4 separate regions of the Homo sapiens genome follow, and regions 1, 3 and 4 are each linked to region 2. The links are contacts of gene promoters, found by promoter capture Hi-C in blood cells and fetal thymus (Javierre and others, 2016). All regions are on one chromosome and are shown on one strand. The core of a region is centred on a gene start or on the middle of the fragment in contact, and the rest is flanking DNA. Distances in the headings are between cores, read along the strand shown.

Region 1 (2,700 bases), core at 181-2,680, 160 kb before region 2:
ACCTACAAAAAAAATACAATGCTTAGGAATAAATTTAATGAAGGAGGTAAAAACCAGTATGCTAAAAACAAAGAAATATGATAAAAGAAATTGAAGAAGACACAAATAAATAGAAATATATTCCATGTTCATGGTTTGGAAGAATTAACATTGTTAAAAATCTCCACACTACCCAAAGCAATCTACAGATCCAATGCAATCCCTATAAAATTTCTAATGACATTTTTTCACAGAAATAGAAAAAAAATCCTAAAATTCATCTAGAACCACAAAAGACCCCAAATAGCCAAAGCAATCTTAAACAAAAAGAACATTGAAGGCATCACATTAACTCATTTCAAAATCTACTGCAAAGCTACAGTAATCAAAGCAGCATAGTACTGGCATAAAAATAGATATGTAGAACAGTGGAACTGAACAGAGAGCCTCAGAATAGATCCATGTGTTTACAATCAATTGATTTTTCCACAAAGATGTCAAGAACACACAATAGGGAAAATACAGTCTTTCCAAAAAATGGTGCTAGAAAAACTGGAGATCCACAAGCAGAAGAATGAAATTAGACCCTATCTCATACCATATGCAAACATTAAATCAAAATGGATTGAGCATTTAAATGTAAGAACTGAAACTATAAAACTACTAGAAGAAAACAGGGGAAAATTTCCTAGACATGGGTCTAGGCAATGGGATTTTATAGTTTTGACCCTCAAAACACAGGCACCAAAAGCAAAAATTGACAAATGGAATTACATCAAACTAAAAAGCTTCTGCACAGTAAAGGAACAATCAACAGACTAAAGAGACAACCCAAGGAACAGAAAAATACACAGATGATCCCAACTTAACAATAGTTCAACTTTATGATGGTGCAAAAGCAATATGCATTCAGCAGAAAGTGTATTTCAGTACAGTATTCAATAAATTGCATGAGATATCAGACACTTTATCATAAAATGGACCGTGTGTTAGATGCTTTTGCTCAACAGTAGGCTAACATAAGTGTTGTGAGCATGTTTAAAATAGGCTAGGCGAAGCTATGATGTTTGGTAGGCTAGGTGTATTAAATGCATTTTTGATTTGACAATATTTTCAACTTACAACAGGTTTATTGGCATGTAACCTCACTGTAAGTCAACAAGCATCTGTATATGCAAACCATGCATCTGATAAGGGATTAATATCCAAAATATATAAGAAACTCAATGCAAGAAAATAAGTAACCCAATTTAAAAATGGACCTATGACCTGGATAAATGTTTCTCAAAAGCAGATATACAAGTAGCCAACAGATATATGAAAAAATGGCTAACATCACTAATCATCAGGGAAAAGCAAATTAAAACCACAATGAGATAACACCTCATGCCTGTTAGAATAGCTATTATAAAAATGACTAAGGATAGCAAGTGTACATGAGGATGTAGAGAAAAGGCAACACTTAAACATTGTTGGTGGGAATGTAATTTACTACAGTCATTATGGAAAACAGTATGGAGGTTTCTCAGAAAATTAAAAATAGAACTAGCCTATGATCCAGCTATACCACTACTGGATATATATCCAAAGGAAAGAAAACCAGTATGTCAAAGAGATATTTGCACTCCCATGTTTATGGCAGCACTAGTCACAATAGCTAAGATATGGAATAAACCTAAGTGTCCATCAACAGATGAATGGAGAAAGAAAAGGTGGCATATACACACAATGGAATATTATTCAGCCATAAAAAGGAAGAAATCTTGTTATTTACAGCAACATTGAGGAACTGGAGGTCATTATGTTAAGTAAAATAAGCCAGGCACAGAAAGACAAATACCACACGATATCACTTATATAGAGAATCTTAAAAAGTTGAACTCACAGAAATAGAGTAAAATGGTAGTTACCATAGGTGGAGATGGCGAGATTTAGGAGATGTTGGTCAAAAGACAAAAAATTTCAGCTAGACAAGAAGAATAACTTTAAGAGTTCTGTTGTATAACAAGGTGACAACAGTTTTTATTTGTCAAATAAAAATGCTAATTTGTCAATTAAATAAAATTTTTAAATGTTTACATCTAAATGTGAAAAGGTAAAACAATAAAGCTTTTGGAAGAAATCGGATGATAATATCTTCATGACTTTCAGGTAAGCAAAGATTTCTTAAACTTGATACAAAATCAGCTAATTACAAAAGAAATAATTTATAAATTAACATGTTAAAATTAATAAAGTAGTTAAACTACTTCAGAAAACTGTTGAGCCATATCTATAAAGTGATCATAAGTATAACATATGACCCATCACTTCCATTCCTAGGTGTACATCCAAAAAAAAATATGTTTTTATGTGCATCAAAAGATATGTACAAGAATAGTCTTTGTAATACTATTCATTATAGCCCCAAACCAGAAACAACCCAAATGTCAATCAATAGTAAAATGGATAAATGCATTTTGGCATATCCACATAGAATTCCATATGAAATTAAAAAGAAAGCCCAATATGAGTGGATCTCACCACATAAATTTGAGTGAAAGAAGAATGAAAATTGTCAGATTCTAAATGGAGTCACTCAAGTCAAACCTGGCAAAATGGAGCCAGGGAAGGCCATCAAGGGAAGGTTCTCATGCATGATTTGCCTAGCAACAACAACTATCACAAGAAATTTTTTCCATACTGCAGCGACTATGTGAGTTGTGCAAGGACAGCTAGCAG
Region 2 (2,700 bases), core at 1-2,500:
CCCTGTTACCAAGGTGAGTGCAGATAACCAGCAGAGACACCTGTGAACTTGAACCCAGAAGCATACACTCTCCATCTTAAAAACACACACTCCCACCATCCTGGGAGCATGGTAAATCAGCAAAGATGGACGGTGAAAATGTCGCTTTCTCACCTCAGCCTGATATTTACCAACAAGAAGTTAATTTCCCACTGTTCCCAGATCAGTCCACATTGGGGCTAACACTTCTCCACAATGTCCAAGCAAAATCAAAAGAATCCCTGTCTCAGAAGGCATTTGTTGCTGCTGAGTCACAACTGCCTGTCTGATCATAGTCTCCCAAAATGGAGTAAACAAAGGGTTAGTTTGTCCCCTTGTTACACAGTGAAGCCCTTTGCCAAAACTGATTGTTGTATTTTCTGGACAAAATGGAGTAAACAAAGGGTTAGTTTGTAAACAAAGGGTTAGCTTGTCCCCTTGTTATACAGTGAAGCCCTTTGCCAAAATTGATTTTTGTTTTTTCTGAATTTTTGTTTTTGTAGATATTCAGCTCTCCCCAATACCTCTGCCTGCCTTGGCTGCCTGGCCACTTTTTCCAGTGTGATTGTGTATGTTCTTGCCTATTTCTAGCCATTTTCCAGTCCTGGAACATATTAAAAACAAATTGGCCTTTCCATGTAGCTCATAAGTCAGAAAAATTACCAGCAGAAGACATCTCTAGAAAGCGAGACCGTGTACTCTGAGCCCTAACAGCTACTTAGCCAACCACTTCTTCTCTGAGCTATATCAGAGCCACCTATCTCTAGCTGCCTATTTGTTCCAGAAGAATTCAACCCAGGGGAATGGTTTTGCCACCCAGGCATAGGGAAACGAGGGGGCTTTTAAATTCACAGAGATTAGAAGTCCAGACAATGCAGGAAATTCACAGATAATATCCAAAGTAGCCAACCTGCCCTCCAAAATAAAATTCTGATTTGACCCAGTGAGGTAAGCCCAGGTAAGGTGAGCTTCACTTCCTGCCAGCCGTCTCCAAGAGTCTGTTCTAGTTTCATCTGTCCAGTTTAAAGCAGGCTTCTCTTTCCACTCAAGTGTTTGGATTCCAGATTCAAAAGAAGTTTTAAAAATCAGGACTTACCTCATTTACCTAAAGATTCTGGGTGGGAAATCCAATAGCTGTGGCTGTTGGAGGGGAGGCAGCAGGCTGCAATCTCACCAGCTCCTATAGGGATGGGGCACCACGGGTGTTATCAAGTCTGAGCCCTCATCAGAGTGAAGATAAATGCATATAACAATAATTTTAAATCATTTTGTAGGATGTTAAGCAATAAGCCACCAACCGGGAATTCCCTAAGTCACTTCCCCCTCTTCTGATTGGCTACCCAGCCCTTTAAAAAAATAAAATAAAGGATTACAAACACTGGCTCATTTGCATTTGGCCAACTCACACGTTAGTGTTCAAACAAAACAGGTCTAACCAGGTAATGCCTGTGTCTCAAGAACAGAGAGACAACCTGTTAATGGATGAGGAATTGATTTGGTGGTGACTGTTCTTTTCAGCTCAGAGGCTGTTTCAGGTGAAAAGCACCCTGCTCACCAAAGACACCATCGGGAAGAGGGAATGTAAAAGCAAAGTGAGTAGAAGTCCAAATCTGGAGGAGATGATGGTATGGAGGGGCCCTCTTGAGCACCTGTCTCATTTATTAGTCTGTATTTAGTCCACCCTGCTTTGGCATCAAGATCTTTTCCCTAGCTCTATAAGTACCAGGCTCTGAAGGGGCTCCCAGCAAGTTCCCTCTCCAGGCACCATGACTGCCTTCTTGACAGAGACTCTTGGCAATTCAATGGACTTTGAAAAGCCTATCTCCCCTGGCCCCAGGTAAGAGCCTTGAGAGGTTTGAAAGGGAAGGTCCTGGGAGGGAGGGTACCTTATGAGGAGATGCTTAGGTCAAGCAGTCAACTCTCAAATATGCAAGAGCTGATTATCCGGTTGGTGGATTATCTAGGTTCTTCACTTCCTCTTGACACTTACATGATCTTTTTTAAAAGGTTTATTGACACTCCCTATAAGAGTTAGAGATGAGAAGACCAAAATGCTGAAACTGGAAATAAAAAAGCACAGTTTGGACAAGAAGAAGGTGGAATATTAGGGAGGATCTACGGATTCAAATACCCAGGCAACCTCTATTCCCTTGGGCCAAGGGACATATGGGGAGTTACCTGTACCTGCTTCACTGGGTCACAAATGTACCTTCTCCCATACGGGTGAATGACTGCTCCTAGCAAAGAAAAATACCATCCCCCAACCATTAACTTTCTCTGTTGAACCTTCCAGGACACTGGCCTGGCATGAGCAAAGTGTCTAAGCAGATTTCTTTGACTCAACGGGCCTCCCTTTTGTGGGAGAGGGAAGGGAAGTTGAGATTTGGCAGAGATAAAGATTTTGTGATCAAAACCAAGAAGTTACTTGTGTTAAAAAGAAAAAAAAAGGTCTGCTTATGGTCAAAGGCTGACTGAATAGAATAAAAACTGGTTATTATATTAAGGGGGAACAGTGAGTGTGCAGTAGTATTAGTCTTTTCTTACTTATTTTTTCTAGTTTCTACACAAATTCAGAGGTTTCTGAAAGTGTAAAAGACTCAGTGGGAAAACAAGGGTGGACTTGGGAAGGTCTTGGAAGCTGGGCAGGTCTTGAAGAAGGGCTTGAGGCTTTGGTCAGTGCAG
Region 3 (2,700 bases), core at 3-2,502, 220 kb before region 2:
GACAAGAATACAGAGGCTCAGAGAGTTTCAGCTCCTTGGCTGAAGTCACCAAGCCAGGAAGTAGCAGAGCCCATATTTGAACTCAGGTTTGTGTGAGCATAGAGTTATTTACCCAGGTCTATATAGCTCCACTGTCTTAACAGGCTTGTATGATTTCAGGGGTGCTAGGGGGGTTCCCACCCCAAGAAATGCTGGGAGAATCAACTCGAACACTGATATTAAAATCCCACCCTTAGAAATTCCTGCCCCTGACTGAAACCTGTAAAACTTAATTTTCTAAGCATAGGTTACACTGTTTCTGGGGATGGGGGAGACAGGCCTGGAGTAAGAGGAGAAAGGGAAATCAAGAGGCTGGGACCCAGCACGGAGGCGTGGATAAAGGCCACGGCAACATGAGGCTGGAGGGAATTGAGGACCAACACCCTTCTTCTCCTTCAGGTGTCCCGGCAACTAAAATCTGGGAGCCAATGGGAGGCAAAGCTCCTCAATGGGCTAGACTGACACCAGTGCTGCTTGGGAACCAGGTTTGGGAAGGATGGAAGCAGCAGATGGGCTCAGTCTTACTTAAACCTGAAGTCTCTATGAAGACCTCACTCACCCAAGACGCTGGCTTTCAGCCCCCCAACATCTCAGCAGAACTCCAAGAAGTACAACATTCATTTGGCTTCCAATGAATGCAAGCAAAATGGAGTTTCAGGACCATGGCAAAAAAAGTCTTCTGGTGAAATCAGAACATTCTACATAGAGAACCTGAGAACAGGGGAGGAGGCAGAAGTGGGAGCCAGGCTGAGGCAGGAGAAAAGACAAGAAGAATGTGACTGAAAAATTAATGGAGTGACCAGAAAGGTTTTTGGGGTGTGTGTATGTGCGTGTGTGTGTGTGTGTGTGTGTGTGTGTGTGTGTGTGTGTGTTTCTACCCATTGCAGGAGGAGAATGCATTTATTTGGTGAAAAATGTTTGCTGGGTGTATACTGAAATGCTACACTGGAGCCTATACATACAGAGTATATGGCTGGTATGTTATACCGGCCCTACCTCCTGACCTTTGCATGTTTTGTGTCCTCTGCCTGAAATGCCTTTTACATTATCTACCTGTCTACTCAAATTCACCCTTTAAGACTCAGCTCAGAGATGGTCCTTTCCAGGAAGCTTCCTGTGATTCCTCCTGCTCCCTCTCTTAAATTTCTACCCAAGTATGGATTATGCTGCTGAGTATTCATAAGATCTTTGCCCTTAGTACACTGGCCTGAAGTAATCCATGTCCACGACTGTATTCCTGGCTAAACTGACATTTCTTGAGGATCATGTCTTATCCATCTTTGTATCCCTGGTACCTGGCACTTAGTAGAAGCTTAGTAAATATTCATTGCATTCATTGTGTTGATTCTCCATACCTCCCTCTCCGTACCACTGACTAATTATGGACATTTAATGAGAGGCAACTCACATAGGATAAAGAACATAGTCTGGGCATCAGACCTGAGTTGCAGTCCTGGTCCTACCACTTTCTAGATCTATAGCCTTGGGTAAGTTACTCAACCTCTCTGGTCTTTGGTTTCCTCATTTGTAAAATGGAGCTAAACTCCCCCATCTTGCAGGGCTGTTGTTAGGATTTGATGAGCCGATTTAATCCCTGACACAGTGGATGCCCAGTAATTAGTTGGCATTCCTTTTAGTGATAAGTTGTAAAAGGTTAGGCAAGTGTTGGCAGGGCTAGGCAATTGCCTGGCCTTGATGAGGAGTAAAGTCTACTGCCCTCTAGGGGCTGCATGAGTAACCTGGGCCTCACTAGCATGGTGTGCTCTACTCGCAGGAGTCCTTACTGGTCCGTGAAGGGGAAGTGGGGAATCTGTCCTAGAACACAACCCACCACTACACCACTGCCTCCTTCTGGGGCTGGCATTACACTCAGCCAGGCTAGAGAGGCAGCTTTTGGTAAAAAGAACATCAAAGTGGCAAAGACACAGAGATGGCCTTACATAACAGGAGTGGCTGTAGGAGGTGACCCCTATGCAGTGAACACGTCTGACTGTTCCCTCCTCTCCTGAAACACAGCCATCCTACGGTCTCTCCATCTTCAGCAGGAAAAATGACCACAACACTGAAAACTGGATGAAAAGGAATGGCTGAAGTCAGCTTAAAGGCCAAGGAAGGGAAATGGTCAGGTGAGGGAGAACAAGTAGAATAATTTAGAGGACTCAGGGGCCTATAAGGGTTGTGTGATTAGAAAGCCCCTGCAGAAGAAGGAGGTTCCTTGAGGGACCAAGTGAGGAGAAGGCCTTCAACTGGTGGTTTAGTTAGAATCTGTTCCAGGTGCCATGCCAAAGGTGAGCTCCAAGGGATCACTGTGTTCAGCTTCAGACCAAAGGAAAGAACAGTTCTAGATGTTATGGATTCAATGTTAGTTATCAGTGAAGCATCGTCGGTAATGGGCTGTGCCTTCCTGCCCTTCCCATGTTAAAAGCAAAGTCAAGACATTTGGCAGAGACTGCTGACTATTCTCTGATAACTCCTCTGTCCTTCTTTCTGAGCTATAGGCTTGGAATGCAGATGTGATGTCAGGGGCTGGAGCAGCTATATAGGACCATGAGGTAGGATCATTAAGAGTTAGAAGGATTCATGGTATTTCAAGACTGTGGGTTTGTCATCTCAGCTGGCAAAACCAACTGTGAAAGGGAAATAAACTTCTACCTCTTGCTT
Region 4 (2,700 bases), core at 149-2,648, 240 kb before region 2:
AATTCTAAGTTACCCTACATATTAGTCTCATTGACATACAAAGAAATTTCAAGGGGAGCCCTGCCTCCTGAGTTCATTGGCACCTGGTGTAGGTCACTGGCTGGCCTGTGACAGGTAAGCCTCTCCAAGTGACATGATTGGGTTTTCTCACAGATTTCCATTATTGGATTTAAATTTAAACAAAATATTCTGGGCCAGGCATGATGGTGTGTGTCTGTAGTCCTAGCTACTTTGAAGGCTAAGGCAGGAGGATCACTGGAACCCAGGAGTTCAAGGTCACAGTGAGCTATGATTGTACCATTGCACTCCAACTTGGGTGACAGAGCAAGACTCTGTCTATAAACAAACAAACAAATAAATAAATAAACAAAAATGTTCTGACATAAGGTTCACCAAGTGGGGTGGACAGAAATAAATCAGACCATTTGACTTTTGTTCATTCGTTCAGCACATACTTGCTGAGTATGCTGGACTCTGTGCTAAGTGCTCCAAGTGCAGCATAAGCAAACCAGTCAGGTTCCTGCCCTCATAGATCTGGAAGAAGTTAGTAAAATAACCTTAGAAGTAAGTGAAAAAGTAGAAGTGCTACAAGAGAGAACTATGAGGTGCTATGAGAATGTACTATCAAGAAGTTGGACCTGGTTTTGGTGGTATAAATAGTGGACTTAAGGAAGGGATATCTTAAAGTTTAATGGCCAAGAACACAGGAGACATTGGCAATACCTTATATTTGGCAGCCTTACAAAAGTCTTAGCTATGGTCAGCCTCCTCTATTCCTCTTACATTGCTTTATGTTTCCCTCTGGATAGAAAGGGAAAAGTAGAAAGTATCCATATAGGTTTAGGGGACAGGGTTTGGTTAATAAGTAATCCAATAAGAGAACATGATTTGCTAATTTACTAAATTCAAGGACAACTATGTTAACTGCCACTTCCTTTTATTTATTATCATTATTATTATTATTATTATTATTATTTTTATTTTTGAGATGGAGTCTCACTCTGTCGCCCAGGCTGTAGTGCAGTGGCGCCATCTCGGCTCACCGCAAGCTCCGCCTCCCGGGTTCACGCCATTCTCCTGCCTCAGCCTCCCGAGTAGCTGGGACTACAGGCGCCCGCCACCACGTGCCCGACTAATTTTTTGTATTTTTAGTAGAGACGGGATTTCACCGTGTTAGCCAGGATGGTCTTGATCTCCTGAGCTCGTGATCCACCCGCCTCAGCCTCCCAAAGTGCTGGGATTACGGGCGTGAACCACCGCGCCCGGCATTAACTGCCACTTTCTAAATGAAAAACTCTCAGGTAGAACTATCTGAAATTTACTATATTTAACTTTTTGCCTCATAAAAGCAGCAATTTCATCTGGTTCAGGCTAACCATATAGAGACTTCTGATAAAAAAAAAAAAAAAAAAAACCTTAAAGTGCTGATGCTGAAGAACAAGACTGACCTTAAACCATAGAACAAGGGACCATGCCAAAACAGGCTTTTTTTCCTTTATCTTTTTTTTTTCTTTAATACAGGGGTCAGTAAAACTCTGTGGAAACAAAAAGGTGTAGCAGAAAGACCACTAGATGGGTGTCAGGAAACTTTGACTCTAACCCCAGCAAGGCCACTCGCATTTTCTCTGTGATTTTGTGTAAGTTGCTTTCTGTCTCTGAGGCAATAGTTCCTCATCTGTGAAACTATAGGGCTTGACCTATGATATTTAAGGCTCCGTTCTTTCAAGACTCTTCTTGCTCCTTGCTACTGTAAGACAGTAAGACTTAGAGTAACACAGCTCTATAATCCCCAGCTTAGAATACAGCCATTTCTCATTTCCGATCCCTCGCCATATGGACAGGTGCAACCAAATGACAATACGGCCCTTATCTGCCTGTCAATCACATGTGCTAGTCTCCATGTGGACCAAGACAGAGATAGGATTCACCTTGTTGATCAGATGATTTGTGAGCTACTGCTTTATCCAGAGTATGTATTACATGTTGAAATTGTAAACATTCAGTAGGAAATCATTTTGAGGACATTACCCAAAGCATCAGAAGAAGAATTGATCTAACTACAGGCTAAAGCAAATCCAAATAATTACTACTCATTTTGGTTTTTGCCCTTCTTGAACATAGAGATGGTATTGCTCAGCACTTAGAAACTGAATCCAAACAGCTGGGGAGGGAATGCTTTCTGAAGTCCAGTTGGGCTGCCAGCACAGATCATCTCCATTCTGCTGACCAGCAGGACCACGTGCCAGCAGCCAAACCTTTAAGTCTCTCAGCATAAGAGCAAGTGGTAACGCCAGGGGTTTTAAGCCTGCAAAGAGTGATTACCTGAAAGTGAGGTCATGATTCAGGGGTTTGACTGCCAAACACTGCTGACAAAGACACACTCTTTTCCCTGACAGTACAGAATCATATTACTGCACACGCAAGTGTCTCACACCTGGGAAGGATGAAATTACACTGAGCTTAATCCTCCGAAACCAGCCCAACAAGAAGTCACTTAAACATTTAGGATAGGTGTTGTCTCCTGGCAAAGAAAATACTGCAAGGCAACCGGGCAGTTTTTACTAATGAGAAGGGCCTAGACTTGTCAGTTGAAATAATCTTTGACCCTTGATTCCCTTTATTAATTATTCCTTGAGAGGTCTAAACATAGTCTCTCTTAAGTGGGCACTCTGGTCTTTTGCATCCTTATTAACTGAGGAA

Evidence for each region. The method cuts DNA at HindIII sites, captures the fragments that hold promoters and counts their contacts. A CHiCAGO score of 5 or more calls a contact.
Region 1: a contact is called between a fragment that was not itself captured here and the fragment with the promoter of EHF in region 2, in 1 of 17 cell types (endothelial precursors). The highest score is 5.0, in endothelial precursors.
Region 3: a contact is called between a fragment that was not itself captured here and the fragment with the promoter of EHF in region 2, in 6 of 17 cell types (M2 macrophages, M1 macrophages, total CD8 T cells and 3 more). The highest score is 8.4, in M2 macrophages.
Region 4: a contact is called between a fragment that was not itself captured here and the fragment with the promoter of EHF in region 2, in 1 of 17 cell types (endothelial precursors). The highest score is 5.9, in endothelial precursors.

Annotation. Positions count from the first base shown.
Region 1 is chr11:34,775,600-34,778,299 of GRCh38, reverse strand. All of the region lies in intron 6 of LOC102723568 (a long non-coding RNA gene), which reads right to left. Among named protein-coding and RNA genes, the nearest start is that of APIP, 140 kb to the left of the region's middle. The HindIII fragment of the contact is 1,321 bases long and covers 770-2,090 here.
Region 2 is chr11:34,619,643-34,622,342 of GRCh38, reverse strand. EHF (ETS homologous factor) reads right to left here and starts at 1,250. Exons shown (of 9, transcript NM_012153.6): 1 at 1,115-1,250. The HindIII fragment of the contact is 6,441 bases long and covers 1-2,700 here.
Region 3 is chr11:34,840,029-34,842,728 of GRCh38, reverse strand. The region is part of intron 6 of LOC102723568 (a long non-coding RNA gene); the gene reads right to left. Among named protein-coding and RNA genes, the nearest start is that of APIP, 75 kb to the left of the region's middle. The HindIII fragment of the contact is 202 bases long and covers 1,152-1,353 here.
Region 4 is chr11:34,859,858-34,862,557 of GRCh38, reverse strand. All of the region lies in intron 6 of LOC102723568 (a long non-coding RNA gene), which reads right to left. All of the region lies in intron 1 of LOC105376624 (a long non-coding RNA gene), which reads left to right. Among named protein-coding and RNA genes, the nearest start is that of APIP, 55 kb to the left of the region's middle. The HindIII fragment of the contact is 2,813 bases long and covers 1-2,700 here.